6 separate regions of the Homo sapiens genome follow, and all the other regions are linked to region 6. Evidence: promoter capture Hi-C in 16 types of primary human blood cells and fetal thymus (Javierre and others, 2016). All regions are on one chromosome and are shown on one strand. The core of a region is centred on a gene start or on the middle of the fragment in contact, and the rest is flanking DNA. Distances in the headings are between cores, read along the strand shown. Region 1 overlaps WTAP (WT1 associated protein). Region 2 has its middle 7.8 kb from the start of SOD2. Region 3 overlaps SOD2 (superoxide dismutase 2). Region 4 has its middle 4.0 kb from the start of IGF2R. Region 5 has its middle 31 kb from the start of IGF2R. Region 6 holds the start of TAGAP (T cell activation RhoGTPase activating protein).

What was found. Contacts are between HindIII fragments. The CHiCAGO score rates a contact against its expected background, and 5 or more counts as called.
Region 1: a contact is called between a fragment that was not itself captured here and the fragment with the promoter of TAGAP in region 6, in 1 of 17 cell types (megakaryocytes). The highest score is 5.5, in megakaryocytes.
Region 2: a contact is called between a fragment that was not itself captured here and the fragment with the promoter of TAGAP in region 6, in 3 of 17 cell types (M0 macrophages, M2 macrophages and neutrophils). The highest score is 9.7, in M0 macrophages.
Region 3: a fragment that was not itself captured here is called in contact with the fragment with the promoter of TAGAP in region 6 in 2 of 17 cell types (M2 macrophages and megakaryocytes); the score reaches 6.1 in M2 macrophages.
Region 4: a fragment that was not itself captured here is called in contact with the fragment with the promoter of TAGAP in region 6 in 2 of 17 cell types (neutrophils and M0 macrophages); the score reaches 6.6 in neutrophils.
Region 5: a fragment that was not itself captured here is called in contact with the fragment with the promoter of TAGAP in region 6 in 1 of 17 cell types (neutrophils); the score reaches 5.3 in neutrophils.

What each region holds. Positions count from the first base shown.
Region 1 is chr6:159,736,265-159,741,194 of GRCh38, reverse strand. It overlaps WTAP (WT1 associated protein), which reads right to left. Exons shown (of 8, transcript NM_001270531.2): 2 at 4,900-4,930; 3 at 2,150-2,205. The coding sequence starts at 4,929. It also overlaps a transcript of SOD2 not described here. Among named protein-coding and RNA genes, the nearest start is that of WTAP, 11 kb to the right of the region's middle. The HindIII fragment of the contact is 1,296 bases long and covers 2,994-4,289 here.
Region 2 is chr6:159,698,820-159,703,224 of GRCh38, reverse strand. It overlaps a transcript of SOD2 not described here. Among named protein-coding and RNA genes, the nearest start is that of SOD2, 7.8 kb to the right of the region's middle. The HindIII fragment of the contact is 1,628 bases long and covers 2,342-3,969 here.
Region 3 is chr6:159,677,816-159,682,289 of GRCh38, reverse strand. SOD2 (superoxide dismutase 2) reads left to right here. Exons shown (of 5, transcript NM_000636.4): 5 at 1-4,474. Among named protein-coding and RNA genes, the nearest start is that of SOD2, 13 kb to the left of the region's middle. The HindIII fragment of the contact is 1,374 bases long and covers 764-2,137 here.
Region 4 is chr6:159,962,916-159,967,163 of GRCh38, reverse strand. No RefSeq gene overlaps it. Among named protein-coding and RNA genes, the nearest start is that of IGF2R, 4.0 kb to the left of the region's middle. The HindIII fragment of the contact is 2,383 bases long and covers 795-3,177 here.
Region 5 is chr6:159,935,398-159,940,180 of GRCh38, reverse strand. No RefSeq gene overlaps it. Among named protein-coding and RNA genes, the nearest start is that of IGF2R, 31 kb to the left of the region's middle. The HindIII fragment of the contact is 4,391 bases long and covers 648-4,783 here.
Region 6 is chr6:159,042,634-159,047,199 of GRCh38, reverse strand. TAGAP (T cell activation RhoGTPase activating protein) reads left to right here and starts at 2,209. Exons shown (of 10, transcript NM_054114.5): 1 at 2,209-2,321; 2 at 2,996-3,080; 3 at 3,169-3,222; 4 at 3,545-3,611. The coding sequence starts at 3,054. TAGAP-AS1 (TAGAP antisense RNA 1) reads right to left here. Exons shown (of 5, transcript NR_183546.1): 5 at 4,144-4,566. RefSeq lists an enhancer at 4,506-4,566. The HindIII fragment of the contact is 8,846 bases long and covers 1-2,456 here.

The DNA.
Region 1 (4,930 bases), core at 2,392-4,891, 690 kb before region 6:
CAATAAAGATTTTTCCTAGTCTTATTAGGCAGTTCCTAATGGAAAGCACCCTGCCCTGAATGTCTGCTATCCTGCATACTTAAGAGCCATGTTTTCAAGCTGCTCTTCAGGTACAATTAATTAAAATTTGGCTTTAGAAAACCATTTTATAATCTTAAAAACAGGCTTGTCATGAGTTATTAATATTACAACATAATGAACAAAAAGGCTCGTGCCTGTAATCCCAGCACTTTGGGAGGCCGAGGCGGGCAGATCATGAGGTCAAGAAATCAAGACCATCCTGGCCAACACAGTGAAATCCCGTCTCTACTGAAAATACAAAAAAATTAGCAGGGCATGGTGGCGCATGCCCGTAGTCCCAGCTACTTGGGAGGCTGAGGCAGGAGAACCGCTTGACCGGGAGGCGGCGGTTGCAGTGAGCCGAGATCGCGCAACTGCATTCCAGCCTGGTGACAGAGCGAGACTCTGTCTTAAAAAAAAAAAAAAGAAAGAAAAAAGAAAAAAAAAAAACCTTCCTAATACCAAACTAATCCACTTTCTATGTAAACACTGATGTTCAGCCAAGGCCATGCTTTATTTTTACGGCACTTACAACCTAAGACACGTAGTTTACCAAATATTTGGGGATGTATAGAGAAAGATCTTCAGTGGAGGCTATAAAAGAACGATTTATTTTAGAAGTACAGAAAAATATAAAAACTGAAGCAAGAACATGTATATCACAAGGATAGAAGGCACAGACTAGTTAAATAAGTAGCAGCTGGTTTAAAATCTCCAAGGGAATCAAAGAGAAAAAACTCGCCTAAAAGTCTTACATGAATTCCCTAAGGAAAGATGTTAAACTGACCTCAAGGAAATACACTGCATATGATTTAGAAACCTTAAAGGTATCTTAAAATAAAACATTTCTATGATTCTTTATTAAGATTACTGATTTTTCCCCTCCTACAGTTAAATCAAAAAAATGACTGCACAGACTAACCAGAGCAATTATGTAAGAAGGCATTAAAAAAAGTATACAATGCCAGAGACAGGGAAAAAAAAAATCATGGCCAGGCATGGTGGCCCATGCCTGTAATCCCAGCACTTTGGGAGGCCAAGGTGAGAGAATCACTTCAGGCCAGGCATTCAAGACCAGCCTGAGCAGCACCTCACCTCTATTATAATTTATATGCACATTAAAACAAACAAAAAAAAACCCAGCATTGAGTAGTAGTGTATCTTAAGTATATACTTCAGCATAAGACAGAAGTGTTTTAGAATAACAAAAATTTAAATTTTATGTGCAGAAAGACAAAGGTATGCAATGGAAACTGTCCTATGTATGAGATTATGGCAAAAAAAAAAAAAAAAAAAAAAAAAAAAAAAAAGGTAAAAAGTGTGTTCATAATACAGTAGCTGTCCAAAGGTGAAAGTAGGAAATTGTCACACTCTAGGAAACAACAAAATCTGTGTTAGCCTATCTCACAAAACATCTTTTCTCTCCTCCGCTTTCAGCCTGTTAAAATACTTATTTTATTTTTATCTAAGTTATCAAGAAACTTACTAACCATAGCAATAAAATACAGAAAGAATATATTTAAATTACAAAACACAGAACATCCTACTTCCTGATTTCTTACACAATCTAAAAAGATTATACGTTGTACTTGACAATCTGCTTTTGTAAGACATTTACAAGATAACCGCAGAAATTCAGAACTGGAAGTCACCTTTAACAATAACTTAACCCAACCTCTTCAACTTACAGATGAGAAAATGAAGAGTATGAAGTTATATGAGCTGGTGAAGGTCACACTAATAAGAAAAAGTAACCTCACTTCATTAGTAAATTATGTATTTCTTCCATAAATATAAGTGCATCTTTTAGGATTACATTTCTTTTTCAAATGTTAAACACGAAAGGAAAAACTACACAAAACAAGCCATATATTTGTTAAACTTATAGCTTCCTAGTAGTTCTTTAAAGTGTTACGTTTTCCTCGGTGTTAATATAAGAAATAGGTCATAGTATGCTCAAAAAGTACATTAAATTATTTGAGGATAGAACAACATTAAAAACAATATCTGGCACAAAGACAATTACAGTGTAGAGTCACAATATAATGTTCTATAGAAAGACTTTGTTTTTGAACAGAGAACATTTTACCTTAGAATTAACTCATCTCTTGCCATAACTTTGAAGTCTGTTTCACTCAATCGAACCTATAAAGAGAATTACAATATGAATTTAGTGTTCTTCCTGAAGACACAAAGTTCTATAATGAGACCTATGAAACATCTCCCAAGTGTGAGATTTAAACGGCTCAGTACATATTATGATTTTTTGAAAAAGTATTTTATTACAAAAGTTTTTTTTTTTTAAGGTAAACTATTTGGTATCTTAACAATGGGCATCATCATTAGGAAAATGCACATTAAAACCCCAGGTATCACCACACACTGATTAGAATGGCTAAAATAAAAATTAGTGGCAACACCAAACGCTGGTGAGGATTCAGAGAAACTGAAGTTTCCTACACTGCAGGTGAGAATATAAAAATGGTATCTGAAGAAGTATGGCAGTTCCTTTTATTAATACAACTAAAAATGAATGTGCCATATAACTCAGCAGTTGCACTCTTAAACATGTATCTCAAAGAAATGAAAACATGCAAGCAGCTTTACTTGTAAAAGCTAAAAAACTGAAAACTATCCAAATGTCCTTTAACAGGCAAATGATTGAACTATCATACAGCCACACCATGGAACACTTTAAGCAATAAAAAGAAACAGGACTACTGATACATGAAACAATTTGTATAAGCCTTAAGGAAACTGTGCTAAGTGGAAGGAAAAAAAATAGTCTCAAAAAGATGCATACTACATGATTACATTTATATAACACTCTGAAGTAACAATTATACAAATGGAGATAAATTAGTGGTTGCCAGGGGTCAGGCATGGAGAGGGACGGGGTAGATGTGGCTATAAAAGAATAACTCGATGAAGCTTTATGGTGATAGTTCAGATATGTATCTTGATTAATGATGGTTACACAAAGCTAGACATGATAATAGTGCATATAGCTCTTCCCCACTTCCCCCAATAACAGTGCTAGTATAACGTGAAATGTGAATAAGCTCTGTGGATTGTACCAATGTCAATTCCCTGATTTTCACAGTTATTAGAGATGTCTGCTAGTCACGCAAGGTGTTAACAATGAAGCAGGCTCAGTGAAAGTTGCACAGAACCTCTCTGTACATTTATTTGCAACTTCCTATGAATCTATAATTATTTCAAAACAAAAAGCTGAAAGAAGGGCATAAGCTAACATGCTTCAAAAATTGAGAAACAGTATATTCACTACACCAAATAAAGGCTGTAAAGGTGAGATACCTCTCCTACCTCAGTATAAAATTAAGGCTTTGGCTGGGCATTGTGGCTCATGCCTCCTGCACTTTGGGAGACTGAGGCGGGAGTATATCTTGAACTCGGGAGTTCAAGATCAGCCTGGGTAACATGGCAAAACCCCATCTCTACCAAAAAATACAAAAATTAGCCAGGCGTAGTGGCACACCTGTAGTCTGAGCTACTTTGGGGGGCAAAGGTGGGAGGATCGCATAAGCTGGGGTATGAGGCCACAATGAGCCAAGATTGTACCACTGCACTCCAGCATGGGCAACAGAGTGAGACTCTGTCTCAGAAAATAAAAAATAAAAATAAAATAAAGGCTTTATTAGTATTCCCTTACAAGACACTTAAATTTTTTTCCTTAAAAATGTTTCAAATTATAATACTAACCAGTAAAATAGTATTACCATAAAATGGAACGAGGGAACTATTATAATGTAACATATTGAAAGGCTGCCAGAGGCAGCTCATGCCTATTATCCCAGCACTTTGGAAGGCAGAGGCAGGTGGCTATCTCTTGAGCCCGGGAGTTCGAGACCAGCCTGGGCAACATGGTAAAACCCCATCTCTACAAGAAATACAAAAATTAGCTGGGCGTGGTGGCACGTACTTGTAGCCCCCAGATACTCAGGAGGCCGAGGTGGGATGATCGCTTGAGCCCAGGAGGCGGAGACTGCAGTAAGCCAAGATTGCACCACTGCACTCCAACCTGGGCAAGAGAGCAAGACCCTGTTCCAAGGGAGGAAAATCAAAGGGTACCAGAGGGAGCACACAGTAATTCTCAGATTATGAAAGCATAATACAATCCTTTATTCATTTAATGAGTAATCTGACTCCACAATAGGAAACTTCTGTAATATCTAAATTATTCACTTAAATATTAAGTTTAGTAAGCTTTCCCAATTGAATCACAAATTCCTCCTAGAGACGATGTTACCTCTTTTATAACAGCCACTGTGTGTGTGTATGTGTGTGTATGTAAGAGTAATTAAACTCAAGGTAGGAATGCACAACAGGGGGAGATTTGAGACTAGACAACAAAACTTCAGAGAAAAAGGTAGAATTTGAAAATTAGCTATAACCATTTTTTTAATAAAGTAGTTTTTAATTACAATCAAAGGGATTTACACTAGGAAAAGAATAATAATATACTCATAATGTCCATTTTTGACATTATTTGTATATATGTACCTGGAAATATTTACATAATGAACATTAAGAGTAGACCTGGAAATATTCACATAATGAACATTAAGAGTAGACCATGGGAATATTATTATAACTAAAGTTTTCCAAAATCTGAAAATATTCTAAAAAATATACTGGATATAAGATACAATATCTGGCACACTGTACAACTCCAATGCTATTATTGTTATAAAGGCAAAGAAATGAAAAATAAGCAAACAACGATAATCCCTTCAAGTCTATTTTTTTTTAAAGTGCTTAAAAAAGCCCCCAAAAAACCCAAAACAAAACAAAAAAACCCAAAACCAAAACCCATACCTTCTTGGGAAGAGGTTCTTCGTTGGTCATC
Region 2 (4,405 bases), core at 1,906-4,405, 660 kb before region 6:
CTCCTGCCTCAGCCTCCCAAGTAGCTGGGATTACAGGCATGCGCCACCACGCCTGGCTAATTTTGTATTTTTTGTAGAGACGGGGTCTCTCCATGTTGGTCAGGCTGGTCTCGAACTCCCAACCTCAGGTGATCTGCCCACCTCGGCCTTCAAAAGTGCTGGGATTACAGGCGTGAGCCACCATGCCTGGCCGGAAGCCATTTTTTTTAAAGATGAGGTTTCACTGTTGGCCAGACTGGAGTGCAGTGGTGCAATCAGAGCTCACTGCAGCCTCGAACCCCTGGGATTAAGCAGTCCTACCTTAGCCTCCTGAGTAGCTGGGACTATAGGCAAATACCACAACACCTGGCTTTTTTTTTTTTTTTTTTTTTTTTCGAGATAGGGTCTTGCTCTGTCGCCCAGGCTGGAGTGCAGTGGTGCCATCACAACATACTGCATCCTCTGCCTTCTGGGCTCAAGTGATCCTCCCACCTCAGCCTCTCAGTAACTGGGACTACAGGCGCACACCACCATGCCTGGCTTTTTTTTCTTTCTTTCTTTCTTTCTTTTTTTTTTTTTTTTTTTTTTTTTGGAGAGATAGAGCTTCCCTGTATTGCTGCTGGCTGAGGTTTTAAAAAATTGTTTATAGGCTGGGCAGGGTGGCTCACACCTGTATTCCCAGCACTTCAGGAGGCCGCGGAGGTGGGCAGATTGTCTGAGGTTGGGAGGTTGAGACCAGCCTGGTCATCATGGTGAAACCCCATCTACTTAAAATACAAAAATTAGCTGGGTGTGGCAGTGCACGTCTGTAGTCCCAGCTCCTAGGGAGGCTGAGGCACAAGAATCACTTCAACCTGGGAGGCGGAGGTTACAGTGAGCTGAGATTGCACCACTGCACTCCAGCCTGGGTGATAGAGTGAGACTCAGTCTCAAGAAAAAAAAAAAAAAAATTTTATACAGACAGGGTCTTGCTTTGCTGCCCAGGCTGGTCTTGAACTCCTGGCTTCAAGGGATCCTCCCGCCTCAGCCTCCCAAAGCACCGGGATTACAGGTGTTAGCCACTACAAATGCGTAGCAGCATAAAGGCACAACTAACTACAGAGAATGTAATCTAAAGTATGTTTAAGCTCATCAGATTTATATGATAAAGTAAGGTCCCTTATTTGGGGCATCCATATTTTATGCCCATAAACCATTGAACTGAATAACAAGTCTCTTTCTCAGTAGGAAAAACCTTAGATACAAGGCAGGGAGATTTTGTTCTTGTTCTCTAGGAAAAAGTGAGAGAAAAGCAGCTGTGTATAGCACTTTCTAACTGTAAAGGTCACACTTGGGCTGACGGGGTGGGTGATCCTCTGGCAAGAAGGGGAATGAGCACAGGTTCTCTCCTAAAATCCCCACTGAAATGACTCATAGAATATACAAATTGCTGGGGAAAAGTCCACATTCAAGCTGGAAATGTTGGGTACCATTCAAATACCAAAAATGTGGGAGATTTTGAGATTCTACCATAGCACTGATGTGTGACTATTAACAGTAACAATGACTCATGGATGAGATCATGAAGTGATATTCCTTTATTGCCCAATAGGTCATTAAATTTGCTTCATGGGCTTGTTTTTCCTTCGTCCCTGGATCAAATGCTGGTCCCATGACTTTTTTTTTTTTTTTTTTTTGAAACAGGGTCTCACTCTGTCACCAGGCTGGAGTGCAGTGGCATGATCGTGGCTCACTGCAACCTCGAACTCCTGGGCTCAGGTGATCCTCGGGCCTCAGCCTCCCAAGTAGCTGGGACTATAGGCATGTGCTATCACGCCCAGCTTGGTCCCGTGACCTTTTAAAAAATATATGTTCTTTAGTAATAAAAAGTCTTATAATCACTTTAAGTTAGAACACAGGCTCAATTCACTATCCAAAATGCTCCCATGTGAGAAGCAAAACTCTGAAAGTGATTTAAAGTCAAAACTTCATCACAGGCCTCTAGCAGGCCAGCAGCCTACAGAGGGAGAAAGATGTTGGCAGCTGGCAGGTGCCTTCTCTAGCGTCTTGCCTTCTGCTGCTGCTGCTCATCTTTGAGCATGCTAACCATGGTTTCTCAAATCTCCAGGGATTGGCCTGGAGAGGAAGCAGGTGTGGGGTTATATTTATATTGCTCACAGTGGTGGCATGTGGGTGGAATACAGGGAAATCTTACATATTGTCTTGCCTGACAGTTGCTTTAAGTGGACTCCTTCTCATGGTTTTGGAGACCACCCCATCACTGAGAATTTGTGTCTCCTAGAGTTCAGTCTAAAAGCCGAGATCCTACATTGTGTTCCAGGGAAGCTTAAGAAAATTAGGTCTCTGCTTGATTTGGAAAGCTTAGACTGAACCTAAATGAAAATCAGGTCAGTAAAAAGTCAGAGTTTAACAAAGATAGATGTTATGTCCCAGAGACCAGACATTTAAGCATTACTTTCAAAGTGCACTCAGAGAGATATTTGTTCTTCATTTAGTACTTAGAGACTAAGTCTTATCCATGCCATCAAAAAAATGGGAGTTGGAAAACATGCCACACATGTTAACAATGCATTGATTTTTTTTTTTTTTTTTTGAGACAGAGTCTCGCACGTCACCAAGACTGGAGTGCAGTGACGCAATCTTGGCTTACTGCAAGCTCTGCCTCCTGGGTTCATGCCATTCTCCTGCCTCAGCCTCCCGAGTAGCTGGGACTACAGGCGCCTGCCACCACACCCAGCTAATTTTTTGTATTTTTAGTGGAGATGGGGTTTTGCTGTGTCAGCCAGGATGGTCTCGATCGCCTGACCTTGTGATCCACCCACCTCGGCCTCCCAAAGTGCTCGGATTACAGGCGTGAGCCACCGCGCCTGGCCAACAATGCATTTTAACTTAAACCATGTAAATGAATTCAGATGAAGAACCAGAAAATTACTGGAGCTACTGCATCACCACACTAGTAATGTGTTGTCTCTAATTTCCATTAATTCTCTAAAGTGGAGTGGCATTTAAAGACACCTGGAAACCAATCTGATCCCTTAAATGTTTAATAATTGTCCCACTCTTAAATATGTTTTGTCCACATCTAACTGAACAGTGATCATTTTTAGTGGCTCACCTCTAGTGTACCAACATATAGCTGACTAGTTCCTCAAACTAAATATCTTTAGCATGAAAATGAAGTTTTATTTTATGCGATTTTATCTAATTTCTCACCAGAGGGTAAATGCAGATGTAAGCTGGCACGAGAGGAGGGTGATGCAGGCCAAGATGGATTGAGTCCTGGGAGTTGCCTGAGATGGGACATAGGTTCCCAGAAATACTGTGATATCAATACTGTTCTCAGTGGACCACAATCTGGCATGGACCTGGGTGGTATGCGAGGCCACTCCTCCTGTGTACCTATTTTGGCTGCTCCGAGTAGATGTACAGTGTGGAGTGCAGCCCCTGGGTTGTGCTGGCCCAGAGATTCAGCCAGCCAAGATCCTTATGCTTGCTCACAGCCCTCAGTGGTCTGGGCTACTCTTTAGTAGCTTGAGTAGCCCTTGAGAGTCATTCTTGGAACTGTGCACCTGAAATCAATCTTACTCCATGACAAATCCTGGGATATGAACTAGAAGTTGGCAGTTTAATAATGACAGATCCCACCCTTACATAGAATGCAGTGACCATGTTTGTTTTTTTTTTTCTCGTGGAGTAGTAATGGGGAAGAGGTGGTGTCCATTTCCATAAAGGAGGCAGGATGTTGCAGGAAGTCCTCATGAAAGGATCTTATGGAGGGCTCTGCCGGACTCTCAATATGGGACAACCCTTCTCTTTTGGCCTCCTGGGTCCCCAGCAAGTCTGAGTCTTTCACTAGACTAGGTTGGGAAGAATGAGCTGGGCCATTGTGAAGGGAAACTCCAGGAAGCTGGGTCTTCACTGAGGCTACAAAGCAAATGCCATCTAAGGGGCAGATGGACCAAGGTCAGGGCATAGAAGCAATGTCAAGCTTTAGGTCCAAGAGTGATGACCAGAGTCGTGTAAGAGATGGGACAGCAGGCCAATCAGGATTTGAGGAGATAGGGATAAGTTGGGAAGTTGTGTAGGGACAGAAGGAGGAAGAAAGTTTCAAATCTTGGGCTCCAATTAGATAAGGCTGGGCCCAATTCTTTTGGGTGTGAAAAATGTGGGAGAGGGAGTGGCAGCTGTTTAAAGGCACGGAGCTACACAGGTTTAACAGCAATACACTTGACCCTTGAACAACATGGGTTTGAACTGCATGGGTCCACTTCTATGTAGATTTTCTTCTGCCTCCACCCCCGCCCCCCACCCCCCAGACAGCAAGATCAACCTCTCTTCCTCAGCCTACTCACCATAAAGATGAGGAGGATGAAGACCTTTATGATGATCCACTTCTGCTTAATGAATAGTAAATATAATTTCTCTT
Region 3 (4,474 bases), core at 201-2,700, 640 kb before region 6:
TGTGTGATTGAATCTGATTGGACATTTTCTTCAGAGAGCTAAATTACAATTGTCATTTATAAAACCATCAAAAATATTCCATCCATATACTTTGGGGACTTGTAGGGATGCCTTTCTAGTCCTATTCTATTGCAGTTATAGAAAATCTAGTCTTTTGCCCCAGTTACTTAAAAATAAAATATTAACACTTTCCCAAGGGAAACACTCGGCTTTCTATAGAAAATTGCACTTTTTGTCGAGTAATCCTCTGCAGTGATACTTCTGGTAGATGTCACCCAGTGGTTTTTGTTAGGTCAAATGTTCCTGTATAGTTTTTGCAAATAGAGCTGTATACTGTTTAAATGTAGCAGGTGAACTGAACTGGGGTTTGCTCACCTGCACAGTAAAGGCAAACTTCAACAGCAAAACTGCAAAAAGGTGGTTTTTGCAGTAGGAGAAAGGAGGATGTTTATTTGCAGGGCGCCAAGCAAGGAGAATTGGGCAGCTCATGCTTGAGACCCAATCTCCATGATGACCTACAAGCTAGAGTATTTAAAGGCAGTGGTAAATTTCAGGAAAGCAGAAGTTAAAGGCAAAATTGTAAATCAGTCGAGATCGGGTGCCTTCAGGGTGGTATGGCTGTATACCAAAATTGTAAATCACTACATGAAGCTTATATATTGGTTTGGCCTGAAAGGTGAAGTGGGGTAGGCAGGGGGCGGGCTTACAGGTTATGGTGGATTCAAAGACTCCCTGATTTGTGATTGGTTAAGGAAGCAAAGCTTTGTCTAAAAACTTGGGGTCCGCAGAAAGGAACATTAAGGTCTGGCCAGGCCCCTCAGGAAGAAACTGAGAGCAAAGAATGGAGGTCAGAGTTTAGTCCCTGGTGTTCCCCCTTATCTGACGTCTGTGTGAATCCATTTGGTGGGGGTCTGGGTTTCTGAAAAGTAGCTCAGGGGCACGTGTTAAGGATGTCTCTAGGTGACTCTAACTTCCCTGGCTATTGTTTGAAACTGTTATGACCTTCTTGCTTATCAGCTTGCTGGTTTCCTTCTCGGGGCGAGCTGGGTGCCTGGAGTTTTCGGTGAAGGAAACTCAAGATTCTCCTTTATTTCTGTGCTTGTGGGAATCCCCCTGGCACACCCCAAAGAGGGGTCCCTGCTCCGTCTCACAGGGATCTTTTTGTATATTTGGCTTAGCATCATACATTTGCCATGTTGTTTCATCATCTGCCTAATTTACTGTTTTTGAATATTTCATTTGTTTCTAATTGTTACTACAGATAATGCTGGGGTGAGCAACTCTGTGTACATAGGTTTATCTCCTATTGGAATATTTTCTTTATATAGGCGTTTTTTTTTTTTCTTTTTTTTTGGAGACAGAGTCTTGCTCTGTTGCCCAGGCTGGAGTGCAGTGGCGCGACCGGAGCTCACTGCAACCTCCACTTCCCGGGTTCAAGTGATTGTCCCACCTCAGCCTCCTGAATAGCTGGGATTACAGGTGCATGCTACCATGCCTGGCTACTTTTTGTATTTTTAGCAGAGACAGGGTTTCACCATGTTGGCCAGGGTGGTCTCGAACTCCTGACCTCAAGTGATCCGTCTGGCTCAGCCTCCCAAAGTGCTGGGATTACAGGTGTGAGCCACTGCACCTGGCCTATATAGGCTTTTTTCTTAAACCTATTTAGTAATGTTTTCCCAAGTTTATTTTTTATTTTTAATTTTTTCCCCAAGTTTATTTTTCTATTTTTTTTTCATGGAAAAATGGGGTAACTTAGCAGTTTCAATATTGAAGACTGAAGTTTAAAAAAAATTTAAATTCAAGGTACTTTTAAAATTCAGTTAGAAAAGTAGGCTTTAAAAATTATTAGAGACAAGAGTACCAAAGCGGTGTGTGTATGTGTGTGTGTGTATGCATGCTTGTGGATTGGAAAAACTTTGGAGACTGATTACTTTTCATTATATATGTGTCACAGTGAAACAGCTTTTATGTGTCATGTAAGATTACTGCTTGCCTCTCTAAGGAAGGTCGTGACTGTTTAAATAGACGGGCAAGGTGGAACCTTTTGAAAGATGAGCTTTTGAATATAAGTTGTCTGCTAGATCATGGTTTGTATTGAACTAACAAGGTTTGCAGATCTGCTGACTTATATAAAGCTTTTTGATTCCTACTAAGCTTTAAGATTTAAAAAATGTTCAATGTTGAAATTTCTGTGGGGCTCTATTTTTGCTTTGGCTTTCTGGTGAGAGAGTGAGGAAGCATTCTTTCCTTCACTAAGTTTGTCTTTCTTGTCTTCTGGATAGATTGATTTTAAGAGACTAAGGGAATTTACAAACTAAAGATTTTAGTCATCTGGTGGAAAAGGAGACTTTAAGATTGTTTAGGGCTGGGCGGGGTGACTCACATCTGTAATCCCAGCACTTTGGGAGGCCAAGGCAGGCAGAACACTTGAAGGAGTTCAAGACCAGCGTGGCCAACGTGGTGAAACCCTGTCTCTACTAAAAATACAAAAATTGTTTAGCTCTGTTTTTCATAATAGAAATAGAAAAGGTAAAATTGCTTTTCTTCTGAAAAGAACAAGTATTGTTCATCCAAGAAGGGTTTTTGTGACTGAATCAGCAGTGCCTGCCCTAGTCATAGCTGTGCTTCAAAAACCTCAGCATGATTAGTGTTGGAGCAAAACAAGGAAGCAAAGCAAATACTGTTTTTGAAATTCTATCTGTTGCTTGAACTATTTTGTAATAATTAAACTTTGATGTTGAGAAATCACAACTTTATTGTACACTTCATTGCAACTTGAAATTCATGGTCTTAAAGTGAGATTTGAATTTCTATTGAGCGCCTTTAAAAAAGTAATACCAAACCATAAAGTTAAAATCTATGTATATTGAGTCATATCTAAAACCACGTATAAACATAAATTGTATTTCCTGTTTTAATTCCAGGGGAAGTACTGTTTGGGAAAGCTATTATTAGGTAAATGTTTTACAAATTACTGTTTCTCACTTTCAGTCATACCCTAATGATCCCAGCAAGATAATGTCCTGTCTTCTAAGATGTGCATCAAGCCTGGTACATACTGAAAACCCTATAAGGTCCTGGATAATTTTTGTTTGATTATTCATTGAAGAAACATTTATTTTCCAATTGTGTGAAGTTTTTGACTGTTAATAAAAGAATCTGTCAACCATCAAAGAGGTCTGCATTATGCTTGCATGTCAAAAACTTTAAAAATCCTATAATCTTCTGTCATTTTCACTGAGTTTCCATGGGAAAGGAATAGTAAATAATGGGTAGTTGAAATATTACTCTTAAGACCAAGACCTGTATCTCCAGTCATATCTGTAATAACATCATCTGATAACCTAAAAGCATAGTATTAGGGATATACGACAAAACCAAAGTGTTTTTGCTGTTGTCACATACCACTCAATACTTTTACACCAGGTTGTCCAGTGGACACCAGCTGGATGTCCTATAATTCAATTCTGACACTGTCTACCTGGAATTGGAGTCAGATCCCACAGGTGGAGGGCTCAGCCCACAAGACTGCCCCCACTCCAGATACCAATCGCAAGTCCCTATACTTCTGACTGGCTATAAAGTGGGGTTCCCGTGACCCTTTCCTTGGTTTTGATTTATTTGCTAGAGCAGCTCCCAGAACACAGAGAAACACTCTACTTATGTTTACCCATTTTTAATTTTATTACTTTATTAAAACTACATATTGGTTACAATACTAATTTATTGTAAAGGATATTTCATTTATTTATTTTTTTATTTAGAGATGGAGTCTCACTGTGTCACCCAGGCTGGAGTGCGGTGGCACAGTCTCAACTCACTGCAACCTCCACCTCCTGAGTTCAAGCGATTCTCATGCCTCAGCCTCCCAAGTAGCTGGGATTACAAGTGTGCACCACCATGCCCAGCTAATTTTTGTATTTTTAGTAGAGATGGGGTTTCACTCTGTTGGCCAGGCTGGTCTCAAACTCCTGACCTCAAGTCATCCACCCACCTCAGCCTCCCAAAGTGCTGAGATTACAGGTGTGAGCCATTGCCTCTGGCTTGTAAAGGATATTTCAAAGAATACAGATGAACAGCCAGATGGAAGAGATGCACAGGGCAAGGCATGTGGGAAGGGGTATGGAGCTTTCATGCTCTCTCCACGTCATCAGCTACCCAGAAGCTCATCTGGACCCCGACCCTTTGGGGTTTTACGGAGGCTTCATTATGTCAGCATTACCATTGGCAATTGGCGATTAACTCAACCTTCAGCCTCTCTCCCCTTTCTGGAGGTTGGGGGTTGAGGCTGGGAGTCCAAACCCTCCAATCTTGCCTTGGTCTTTCTGGTAAGCAGCCCCCCGTCCTGAAGCTACCTAGAGGCTCCCAGCCACCAATCATTTCATTGGCAAACCAAAGATACTTCAAGGGGTTTAGGAGCCAAGAGACCAAGCAAGGATTGAGACAATATATATATTTCTTATAAATAACATGA
Region 4 (4,248 bases), core at 737-3,236, 920 kb before region 6:
TCAAAGGTATTCCTTAGCTCATTCATTAATGTGAGAACCGGTAACATGTCACAGCTGGTTCAAAGGAAAATCCAAGGAGAATCCAACAAATATTCAAGCAGTTAGGAATGCTGAAATAAGGTTGTCTATAGATGGAAAATTGGTCAGTAACCATAGGTCAAAAAACAGCTGCGTACGCAATAGACACAATTTGCATTTCTAAAGACAAAAATCGTGTATATTACCATCAGTAGTCTACAATTTACAGAGTTGTAAAATACCTCAAAGACAGTGGCAGACACAAGACCCCATAGAATCAGATAACCCAAAAGACTGTACTAAACAGCTAGCATTCCATTACAGTTGACCACTAATATTTTTGGTCCATTTCAAAGTCTTTCACAGTTATTCCCTACCGTACACACTATCACAAGTAGTCTTGCCAAGAAGTTCAACTTAATCTAATTGAGATAAAACAATCAAATTCAAACTGTGAAACATATGACAAGAAAACTGAACTGGACTATTGCAAAATATTAATGCGCTGAAAAAACAACTCTCCTCCAAAAAAAAAAAGAGAAAAAAAGTGGAAGTGCTACTCTAAATCCATGTAGCAAGCAATAACCTGTGGGTCAAATGTGGTAAGGCAGCTGTTTTGTAAATAAAGTTTTGTGGGAATACGGCCACACCCATGTGTTTATGTATTATCTAGGGCTGCTTTTGCCTGCAATGACACAGTTGAGTCGTTGCAACAGAGACTGTATGACCTGAAAATGCTAACATATTTTACCATATGGCCCTCCGCAGAAAAAGCTTGCCAACCTCTGTTCTAGATCAGTGGTTTTCAAAAGTGCGGTCCTTAGACAAGCAACTTTTGTGTCACCTACCAGCTTGTTAGAAATGCCATTTCATGGGTCCTGCCTCAACCTATTGAATGAAAATCTCTGGAGATGGGCACCAGGAGATTGCTCTAGCAAGCTCTCCAGGAGATTCTCATACACATGGAAGTTTGGCACCGGGAGATTGCTCTAGCAAGCTCTCCAGGAGATTCTCATACACGTGGAAGTTTGGCACCAGGAGATTGCTCTAGCAAGCTCTCCAGGAGATTCTCATAAACGTGGAAGTTTGGCACCAGGAGATTGCTCTAGCAAGCTCTCCAGGAGATTCTCATACACATGGAAGTTTGAGAACCATTGTCCTAAATTAAAGGAGACTAAAAAGGCATGACAAAATGCAATGCGTGATTCTTACTTGGAGCCTAGACCCAAAAATAGGAAGGTATAAGGGACATTTGGAGACCACTGGAAAATTTTTAATGTAAATCCTATATAAGGGACTTTAAAGCAGCAGTCCCCAACCTTTTGGCACCAGGCACCAATTTCGTGGAAGACAATTTTTCCATGGATGGTGGAGGGCTGTTGTGGGGGATGTTTCATCAGGCATCACAAGGACAGTCCACCCTAGACCCCTCTCATGCACAATAGGGTTTGCACCACCACTTATCTGACAGGAGGCGGAGCTCAGCGGTAATGCCCTCGTTCTCCTGCTGTGCGGCCAGGTTCCTAACAGGCCACAGACCAGTACAAGTCCATGGCCCGGAGGGTTGGGGGACTCCTGCTGTAAAGTCAAATACTGCAGGGCATAATTCTCCTGTATTTCATTTAAATTTTCTGAAAAACCTTTGAGGAAGCAGAGACTCACAGATATCAGCCTAAGACCCCCTGTTATAGGCTGAATTGTGTCCCCTAAAAGAATACGTTGAACTCATAACCCCCAGTACTTCAAGTGTGACCTTATTTGAAAATAGGGTCATTCCTTATGGATAAATTATGATGAGGTTATACTAGAGTAGGGTGGGTTCTTAATCCAGTATGACTGGTGTACTTTCAAGAAGTGGGCAAGAAACACACAAGGAGAAGGCAGCCATATGAGAATGGAGGTGCTATGCATCTACAAGCCAAGGAACACCAAGGATTGCCAGCAACACCAGAAGCTGGGACAAAGGCATGGAACAGATTCTCCCCTAGAGCCTTCAGAGGGAGCGTGACCCTGCCAATGCCTTGGTTTTGGACTTCCGGCCTCCAGAACTGTGTGAGACAATTTCTGTCATTTTAAGCCACCCAGAGGTACTTTGTTATGGCAGCCTAAGAACACAAATAGCCAAGAACACAAATGTCCCTCAAATGATAGGACAGATCCAGGCTTGGCATCCAGGTGCTCCAACCACCGCCCTGTTGTGAGGACCCAATCTTCCTGCATCTGACTTTGGAAACACAAGCTCAAATGACAGACCAAGGGCAGAAAGAGCAGCTACTGAGGATGTCCCTGCATGATGTCAAGAGCAATAGCAGGGACAGGTAACACTAATAGCTGCCCCTTTGGAACACAAACCATGAGCTATCAAACTGATGGCATGCACACATTGTTCTGAAACTCAAACAGAATCTCACCCCAAAGATCCAGGAACTTTTTAGAACACCCAGAAAGGAACATGATTCTACCAAAAGACCCTCAAAACACACAGTGATTCATTTTAGGCTTCTTGATTTCTAAGATCATAAACTGCCAAGAAAAAATGTACAGTAAATAATATTGAATCAATGTTAAATTTCATAAGATAAAGCTACTGTGATTACATAGGACGATGTGCTTGTTCTTATGTGATACATGCTGAAAGTGAAGTGTCATGATGTTGGCAACTTTCAAATGATTTCAGGGGAAAAAAAGAATATATGTATGAATAGCAAGCAGAGGTTAAAAATATTAACAGTCACAAATGTAGTGAAGAATATATCAGTGCTCTTGTACTATTCTTTCAACTTTTCTATAGGTTTGACATTTTTCAAAATGAGAATTGGGAAAGAGATCTCATCATGAAAGAGATTGCTTTTGAGTGAATCTGGAAGAATGGGGGAAATTTAGGGAAAGGACATTGTAGGCACAAAGAACAGCAAGTGCAAGGCCATGGTAAAATACAGAAGCTGTATTTGCTGTACAAGGCCTTTTGCTTAAGCAAAAGTCACATGGGAATAAAGAAAAACTACTTTTGGCCAAAAACTGTGCTAGATCCTGGGCTCATAAAATATAATCCCTCCCTCAAGGAGCTCGCAGTTTAGGACGTAGTCAATTTTTATATAAGTTTGAAAATTTTTATTGTGCCCAGCTCCTAGAGGATCTTAAATGGTCATCTAATAAGCTTAGATTTGGCTGGATATGAAGTAGGGAACAATAACAGCAGATACAATAATACATACTGAAGGCTCACTGTCAATACCATTCCTGTATTATATCATTTACTGTTAATACCAATCCCACCAAATAGGTAATTTTATTACCCTCCTTGAAAAGATGAGCAATTCAGTCATAAAGAAATTATATACCTTGCCCAAGGTCATGCAGTTGGTAAGTGACAGCGCTTGGATGTGAGCTGTATGATCTGGGACCAAAGCCCATGCAGTTAACTCATCAACTGCCTCCTCATTGAGAGATTTGGAGAAAGAGAGATGTTCACGGTGACACATCAGGAAAATCCATCTGGTTTTAAGATAGACTGGAAGCTAATTTATTAAAAGTATCACAATTAAGGTGACAAATTCGACAGCAGAAAGCCTTGTGTCCTTCAAAAACACCCAGTTCCCAGTTAGTTAACACCTGGCCAGGTAACTATCAAAGATAATGCCCTAAGGCTTTGGCATGGGAATTTAGAGGGGAATAGGGTTAGAGGCATGAGGCAGGTGTGGTTGGCTGCCTTCCTGCAGGCATCTCATGCCCTTGATTGCTGGCAAAGCCCACCTCCACCAGAGGCTGTGGGTGTGAGATTCTCACTTCCCAGACATTCTTACAGCCAGAGCAAGGGCGTATGACCCAGTCCTGATGATGGAACTCGATGGGAAGTCTCCTGAGATCTTCTGCAAAATGCTTTCTCTCCAATAAAAAGAGTTGCAAAACAGAAATCCCTTCCCCTTTTGTGTTTTTTTGTTGTCTGGATGCAGTAATTTCTATATGAAACTGCTGTCCCCTCATAACTGTGAGGGAAAATGTGGCCAACACAGTGGGAACAAGACGGAAGACATCAGGATCCTGAATGACACTGGTCCACTTCACCAAAACTCTTGTATCCGATCTTTTGTTTTGTGATAGAATAAATAAATATGCCTAAGCCAAGTGCATGTGTTATTAATGTATTGCCTCTCTGCTTTGAATGCATCTTCTAGTATATGCTCTGTGATAAAGGAATCCATTTAAGCAGTTCTCCTTTCAACTAAATGA
Region 5 (4,783 bases), core at 1,594-4,093, 890 kb before region 6:
AATTAATTGATTTCTACTCAACAGTGGGTCGATGGCTCAAAGTAGAAATTAAATTCAGTACCAGAAAAGTAAAGAAAAAATCAATTTCTGGCATGTCTGACTTGGACTGAACTTCATTCCCACTAGAATAAGGAAAAGGAAGAAAACAAGCCAGGCACTCTTTGACACCACTCCATGAATCCTCCCCACAGGCGCAAGGGGCTAATGTTGACCCTGAGGACACACATGCCAAGGAGTTGAGGGCCGCAAAGGCCAGCACTAGTGCCGGTGCCTGGTGGAGAACGAAACCCAACCCAGACCAATAGAAAATGCTCAGTGTTTCCACTGCCATGAAGTCTTGGGTATTAAAGGTCATCTTATCCAAGGCTGCCATCTTAGCGATGAGAACACTCAACTTGAAGATGGAGTGAAGCCTCTTGGACTTGCTGACCTGCCAGCCCTGCTGTTCACCCTGGCCCAGTCCCACTGACTGAATCCCTCTGGAGAAAACTCATGTGACTGGAAAACTTCCTCTTATTCAGTACAAATGACTCCATTTTATTTGCAGTTTTGGCACCGCCTTATCTCTGATTTTGATAAAGGGAGCTTTGCTGAAAAGCTCTTGGCAGTGGTTCAGTAAGGGATTTTTTTTTTTAATTTAAAAAGCTTTATTGGGGTATCATTAACATGCAATGACTTGCTTATTGATATACAATAAATTGTCCATTTAAACTGAACAGCTTGGTAAGTTTTGACATATGCATACACCCGTAAAACCATCAGCACCATCAAGATAGTGAACGCATCCATCCCCCACAAAACTGTCCTTTGTCCCTCCTTTGTATACCTTTCTGCCCCCCGAAAGCAACCACTGATCTGTCTTCTGTCTCCATAGATTAGAGGGAATTTTCTAATTTAATATAAATGGAACCATATAGTATGTACTCCTTTTTATGTGGATTCTTTTGCTCAGCATAATTTTGACATTTGTCTCCTGTGTATCAATAGTTCACTCAGTTTTATTGCTGAATAATATCCCACTGTATGGGTATACCAGTGTATCCATTCACCTATCGTTGGACATTTATCAGTTTTTGGGGGGTAAGTATCTAGGAGTGGAATGGATGGAATGCATGGAATACATGGTGGGTCTACTACTTGCAAAGATGGTTGTACCATTTTATATTCCCATCAGTAGTGTCTGAGACTTCCAGTTTTTCTACATCTTTGCCAACACTTGGTATCATCAGACTTTTAAATTTCAGCCATCTTAATGGGTATGTAGTGGTATCTCACTGTGGTTTTACTGATAATGTCTAATGATGTAGAACAGCTTTTCATGTGCTTATTTGCCACCCATATATCTTCTTTGTGAAGCGTCTGTTCAAAGTTTTTACCCATTTTTAAATGGGCTTGTTTGTTTCTTCATTGTTGAGTTCTGAGAGTTCTTTATATATTTTAGATAAAGTCCTTTTCACATACATGCTTGGCGAATATTTTCTGCCCATTTATTGCTTATCTTTTCGTTGTCTTAACAGAGCCTTTTCAATGGCCAAGTTTTTAATTTTCATAAAGTACAGTTCATCACTTTGTTACTTTACGGATGGTGCTTTTGACACCGTATGTAAGAAATCTTTCTTTGCCTAACCCAAGGTAACAAAGGTTTTCTCCTATAATTTGTAGAAATGCTATAGTTTTGGATTTTACATTTAAGTCTATAATCTCATTTGTTAGCTTTTGGTTTTTGTTTTTTTAGGGTCTCACTCCCATTGCTCAGGCTGGAGTGCAGTGACATGATCTCAGCTCACTGCAGCCTCAACTTCCTGAGCTCAGGTGATTCTCTCACCTCAGCCTCTCGAGTAGCTGGGACTACAGGTGCACGTCACCCCACCTGGCTAATTTTGTGTATTTCTTTTAGTAGAGATGGGGTCTCCCCTTATTGCCTAGGCTGGTCTCAAACTCCTGGGCCCAAGTGATCCACCTGCTTCGACCTCTCAAAGTGCTGGGATTATAGGTATGAACCACCGCACCCAACATTTGTTAGTTTTTGAACACACTTTAAATTATGGATTCAAGGAGCTAAGTTTCTTCTTCTTCTCCTTTTTTTTTTTTTTTTTTTGCACCTGTTCCAGCATCTTTTGTCAAAAATCAGTTGTCCATATATGTGTGAGTATATTTCTGGACTCTCTACTCTGTTCCATTAATCTATTTGTCTATCTTTATGCCAATGGCATGCTGTTTTGACTGCAGTAGAGGAATTTGAGCATGAGAAGTTTAAAAATGGCTCTGAGGTCCATCTTATCCTGGAGATTTGGAATTCCTTTTTCCTTCCAAGTCAAGGGGGAAAGCCTACAACCTCTTCTTAAAGGTGAGCATGACCTGTCTTTTGCTCAAAGGGTCTTAGCACTGCTGCCAACAAGTTGCAACAGAGAATTTTCTGGGCCTTTGTGGATGATGGGAAGCTCTGCAGAAAATTCATCCATCATTGGCTCCCCAAACCAGCCTCAGAGCCAAGCTGACAGCAAACCAAAGGCCTCATGTAGCCACTCCCACTGGCAAGGAGGAGTGCCCTCTCCTGTAGGAACAAGGACTACGGGGTGTCCCTCGTTCTGGACACTTGCTAGCAGTTTCTGTAAAGATTTCCAGACACGGGGGCTGAAATTAGACATTAAAATCACATTTGGGAATATTAAAGAATTTATTGTACCTCCTTCCCGTCCCTCATTTCCCTCTTCCAACATCACTCTCGATCTTCAGAAATTGTGAGACAGTTACATGCTAAGAAGGAAGTAGGAAAAGAGGCTGTCTCTAGCTCTGTCTCCCTAGGAGCATGGTATTGATGACCTGCATGAGCCTGGCACTGGGCAATGGGCAGGGCTGGACAGAAAGTTAGGGGAGCAGGGAACGTGGAACCTTCTGTATGATCTGTGTGATTTGCCTGTAAATCTAAAACTATTCTAAAATAAAAAGTTGTTTTTTGTTAAAGGTCCAAGTAACTGTTTAGAAGAAAAGTTAGGGAAAGGAAAGGTTTATTAAAACTAATGAAAAACAGCCTAGCCATTATAAAAAGTAACGGCTCTCTTTTTTTATTATCTTCCCAACTGAAAAATGACCATAAATCTTCAGTCTTCCACAGACTCCTATTTGTTGGGTGTGCATTTCTTCAAGCTGTGAAACAGCCATAGATGGCTCCATGCAGCAGGAGCAAACGTGTTTTTGTTTCTCCCCCAACCCTTCCTGGTTCAAACACCCTTCCCTTTGTTCCTCCTTCTCCTCAACCCTGGTCAAGTCATTTTCTTTCTGGTTTAATCAGAGATAAGAAAAGCAGATCTTGAAAGTCTTTTCACAGGAGAATCTAAAAATCTCAGTGCTGATGGAAGGTATGGAAGCATGGGAAGTTAAAGAAGAGGACTTCCGGCTCTCATCATCTATCACCGCTGCTCTGGCATAACACAAATGGAGGATATGAAAACATCCATTCTGTGACCTGGGGATCAGCCCCCTGCTGAGAAAGGTCTTCTACTGAGGAGTGTCCCACTAATGGGATAATCTCACAGACGGGTAAACACAAAGACACAGGGCTCTGTCACACACTAGCACCAACCAGGTTGCTGTGTTTCCTGGGTCACAGATTTGCCCAGGAGAAACTCCATCCACTAAACCCAAGTGTTAAAATGAAAGCAAATACATTGGCGCCTGAACACAACAATGCATGCTACAGAGTGGAATTCCATAAATGGCCTTTTACTACAATAAAATCACAAGGAACTCAAGATAAAACCATTGAACAGTATGTACAATAAGGGCAGTGTCAGTCCAAGACTTGGAGACACTTACCAAATGGAATGGAGAAGGCATTAAATATTCATTGACATGTCAAGTCAGTCTTTCCACATAGAAGGTTCAATGGAGAATGTAGTGGAAAGACCCAAAGTGACCCCCAAAGACACCCACCTTCTGGGATCATGCCTCTGGGTACTCTCCTCCCCTTGAGTGTGGGCAGGACCTGGGACTTACTTGTAACTAACAGGATATGGCAGAGATAATGGGATGTCCCTTTATGATTAAGTTACCATATATATAAGTCTCCCTCTTAGGAGCAGACATACTGTACTCTCCCTTACTGGCCTTGAAAAATCTGACATGAAGTAAGTGGCCATGGTGAAGAAGCCCATATGGCAAGGAACTGCAGGCAAACTGCCATTGCTGAGAGCAGCTTCAGCAAGAATGCAAAGCCTCAACCCTGCAAGAAGAAGGAAATGAATTCTGCCAACAAGCTGAGGGAGCTTGGGAGTGGATCCTTCCCTGGTTGAGTCTCTGATGACACTGCAGCTGAGTCAACACATTGACTTCAGCCTAGTGAGATGCTGAAGCTCAGAACCCAGATGAGCCATGCCCAGGCTTCTGACCTGCAGAAACACTGAGATAATAAGTGTGTGTTGTTCTGGCTGCTAAGTTCATAGTAATTTGTTACGCAGCAGTCGCTGACTAATACAGGAGATAAGAAATAGTTTGACTTGCTAGCCATTTTTACTTTCATAAAAATGTTGTTTCTAGTTATCCTTTCATGCTATGAGAAGCATCCTTTCCAACTCCCACTGTCACAGAGGGGATCCCACATCTCAAGCTCATGGTGGTCCCCCAGCTGAACTAAATGACTGACTGTAGAAGAGGGGTGGTTCCCCAAAGGAAATACAGGGTCTCATTACCAAAAGAAAAAGGAGATAGAAAGTGAACATCAAAAAAATAGTAATTGCCCACCTGAGAGCCCTCCCCATTTAATTTGACAGGGGAAGGAACAGGT
Region 6 (4,566 bases), core at 960-3,459:
TGCTACTAACTTTTCATCCTAGATAGTTCCCTGGGTGCTTAACTAGGCATGGTAGGTCCCAGAAGAAAAAGAAAAGTCCGTCGATGTAACCATTTCTGCAGGTCATCAAACCATTCATGTTATGTATTTTTAAAAGATGCTGAGGCTGGGCACAGTGGCTCACATCTGTAATCCCAGCACTTTGGGAGGCCAAGATGGGTGGATCACCTGAGGTCAGGATTTCCAGACCAGCCTGGCCAACATGGCGAAACCCCATCTCTACTAAAAATACAAAAATTAGCCAGGTATGGTGGCGCGTGCCTGTAATTCCAACTACTCAGGAGGTTGAGACAGGAGAATCACTTGAACCCAGGAGGCAGAGGTTGCAGTGAGCCGAGATCACGCCATTGCACTCCAGCCTGGGTGACAAGAGCGAAACTCCATCTCAAAAAAAAAAAAAAAGAAAGAACAGTAAGTACATTAAGTTTCTTACAAAAATTTGAAAAGTCCGTTTGTCGGGAAAAAAAAAAGTTTAGAAAATACATACTAGCAATGAATATACATCACATATATATTCTATGATATATAGAACATTATAGTAATATTCTATTTTGGCTATTTTATAAGGAAATGTATATATTCAGAAATTAGTTATTTAGTACCTACTATATGCCTAGCACTAGGCTGGGCACAGCGTAAATGCCCTTTTTCAATTAAAAAAATCAGTGAGTTCACTTTGGAGGTTTATAAAGGCAGGAGAGGGATGCTGAAAGAGTGGTGGCCTCTACAGCTGCCCTGGGAACACTGGGTGAACTCTGGCACTGTGGTGGCTTTCAGAGAGGGAGCCCCCAGCTGGAAGCCTGAAAACCAGGATCTGTCCCTAGGTCCCCACCGAGCCGCTAAGTTACAGAGCAAATTTCGACCTCTCTGTGCTTCGGTTTCCCAAAGTCTGCCCCATAATCACCTCCTTTCAGTAAAATGACAAAAGAACTGACAATGCGGAAAAGTCTTAAAATTAAAGATGCTGATGATAAATGAAGCCAAGTTATTTTAAAACTTTTTATTGAAAAATTACATAAATAGGGAAGTGTGCACATAAGCCTAGCACCACCCAGATCAAGAATGGACCATCACCAAGCCCCCCGCTGGCCCCTGGAAGTCATTACCATCCCCTCTGGGAAACTGCTACTCTTGCTTCCAACAGCACAGACGACTTTTGCTAATTTTGTGCTTTGCATTAATGGGAGCCGGCAGGATATACACTTTCACGTCTGGCTTCTTTTGCTCAGCGTCATATTATGAGATCCAACCATATTGTTGGCTATAGTCATAGGCTGTTCATTATCAGTGCTATACAACATTCATTCCCTATGTGAATGGATCACAATTTATGCATCCATTCTCGTGTCGAGGCATTTGAGTGGTTTCATATATAGCCCTTGATCTACAGAAAAGATCAGAAATTCTCTTATGCAGAAGAGTGATCCACAAATGAAATTCACCATCTCTTTCCTACTTTAAGTTGGTCTGATCAAAGGAATTTTTTTGTTTGTTTTCCTTCCGTGTCAGAACGACAGCTGCTCTGACTGTAAATTAAGTATCAATACTTTTGACCAGGAGTTACAGAAAGGAGGAGGGGGTTACTATATTGACAACTGACTCGAGGGAGTTTTCTTTCTACTTCCAAAGGAAACTAACCTGGCTTTGGACGGTGATTGTTCCTCAAGGAAGGGACTGTCTTGGGTTTCTTTCTGGTTCTGTAACAGTGTCCCACATCCAGGGGTGCTAATCAACGTGTGGTGCTGGTGGACAGAGCAGATGGCACGTGGGAGGGGAAAGAGCACCCAAACAGGATGCAAAAAGAGGCACTTGAAATTACCACTTTAGAAAATAAAGTGATGTTTATGCACAGAATAACACAATTTCTTGTTCACACATCCCACCTATGACATTAATCAGAGCCTTCACCTATGGGCTGAATGTCATGTTTTCCACTCCTAGTAGTTTACAGATTTTTTACTTTGAAGTGGAAGACACAAAAAAAAAAAAAAAAAAAAAAAAAAAAAAAGACATAGCTGCCCTAAAAGGAATGAGGAAGCGAGAGCTCTCCAGTGTCTGGCTGGCTCCGTCCGTGTGACAGCCCATGATGTTCTTTCCGGTCTCTGTAATATTCTGAATTTCCACCTGCCCGCCCCTTCGCTTATAATGCAGAGCATGTGAAGGGAGACCGGCTCGGTCTCTCTCTCTCCCAGTGGACTAGAAGGAGCAGAGAGTTATGCTGTTTCTCCCATTCTTTACAGCTCACCGGATGTAAAAGAACTCTGGCTAGAGACCCTCCAAGGGTAAGTACACTATATATTAACATGCCTAGAAATTACAAGCTGCCTCGCAAGTCACAGGTCACTCAGATCACAGGCAACAGAAAACAGCTATCCCGTGGAATATGCTCTCACTTTATAAAGTCTCAGGACAAAGCTTTGCTTCAACGTGAAGGCTGCACCTTTTTGGTGTAGGAGTTCTGTAAATGTTATCTTTGTTTCATGTTTACTATTTTAGCATCCTAGGGATATGTTTTTTTTTTTTTCCTTTTTGGATTAGATGAGAAAATCCATGCAAAGCACCTACTACGACAGCTGGCATATAGTCAGCACTCCACCAAAAAAGTTAATGTTCATGTTAATTTAAAATGTTAACGTAATTGATATCCAGATTATCTCTTGATGGAACGGAATAAATTGGTAACAACGTTTAGAGTGGTAAAGATAGTTGACTTAAATAATTTAGAAATAATTGTGTTCAGATGCTGCTCTTAACAACATACAACATCTGGTAACAGAACTGATTTTAAATGAAAACTTGTCTATGTAATAGTTTTTTCCAAAGTAAAGGCAAGTGAAAAAATAGCAAAAGAGAAAAATAAATAAATAGTTTCAAACTCTGTGCTTTGGCAAAGTGGCGCTGAAAGTGGCCTACTGTGTGAGTCCCTCCTAACTCCTTTCCATGTGATTCGTTGTAGACAGAGGCACAGCCACACGGGAGTGAAATCCACCCCTGGACAGTCAGCCGCAATACTGATGAAGCTGAGAAGCAGCCACAATGCTGTGAGTGCCCCTCTCACATTCATTCATTCACGTTTCCTACAGGCAAGGGCCAAAAGATATTTACCTAATTTTATTTTTTCTCTTTTAGTCAAAAACACTAAACGCCAATAATATGGAGACACTAATCGAATGTCAATCAGAGGTAAGAAAGCAATTTTTAAGACTTTTTATCTGTACTGTGAGAAGGTGGAAAACTTTGTTTTAATTGAATATTATTTGGGTTGAATAGTAATTATAAGAGTAGTAAACTAACATCACACATGTAGTAAATTAAGCACATTAATTAGGATCTTATATGATGACAATCAAGACCTTAATATTGCTTCTAGAAGCTAGAAAAAACATCAATGCACTCTACTGACTTCATTTTTAATATGAATAAAATGCTGTATGTGTGTTTTGTGGGGAAAGACTCGATAGGTTTCTTCAGTCACTATATTTAACTGAAATAAAAATGTTTTTAGGGTGATATCAAGGAACATCCCCTGTTGGCATCATGTGAGAGTGAAGACAGTATTTGCCAGCTCATTGGTGAGTTTTAAAAACATACCGATCTTTTATGTAAGTGCTAACAACCAGTGCTCTTGGTTTGCAAAACCACAGCGCTTTTACTCTACTAGGAATTTTTTTGTATAAGTTGTTCTGTTAAAGACCGCAGAACATTAACCCTTAAATGGCAGGTATGCTCCAACTCACTAGAGCAGGGAGTGCTGGGAAAGGAAAGAGCCTCTCCATAGAGAATCCCCAGTTCTGCCAAGCGTTTTTAATGCGGTTCAATCTCCTGGCCATGTATGTTTCGACAATTAGCATGCACACATTTGAAAAACACACAGTGTCTTTTCCATTTTCTTCCTTCTCTTATGGAGAATGCATCCAAGAGCCTATGAAGCAACTGTTGCTGATCTCAAATCCCAAAGGACCCACCATTCACTCTCAACTTTTTTCATAATGCATTTCATTATAGCGTAACCCTGACCCAGTTCTCCTGAACCATAAAGACAGGCCACTTCTTTCTCATCATGCTTCCACTTGCCAATCTGAAATGTATAGAAACAGATGCCAATGCATTTAGAAAATATAGCCTTTATAATTAGTAAGAAAGGAGAAGGAAGGAAGGAAGGAAAAGAAAAGAAAGAAGGAAATGTTTGAGATTGCAATATCCATTGCACACACATCTTGTGGATTTCAGAAGGACAGAATATCTTGATAACGTTTTGCTGATAATTCCCAGTTGCCAGATCTAGGTTCAAGGCTTCCCGCAGCGATTCGTATTTGCCTCTGTCCTAAAGCAGCAACCTGGAAAACCCAAGGTGACCAGTCACCTGGAAGGAAAAATGGTGTTAGCTCCCTCTAGTGGCTGTTTAGTGCCTGCGTGGCTGCAAAGGGTTGGAGCCAGCCCTGCTATGTGCCTTCGAAAAGATATTCAGCAAGTCACTTCCTCACCTTTTAAGTTTCGTTTTCTTCGCCAGTTAAAGGAGGAAATCAA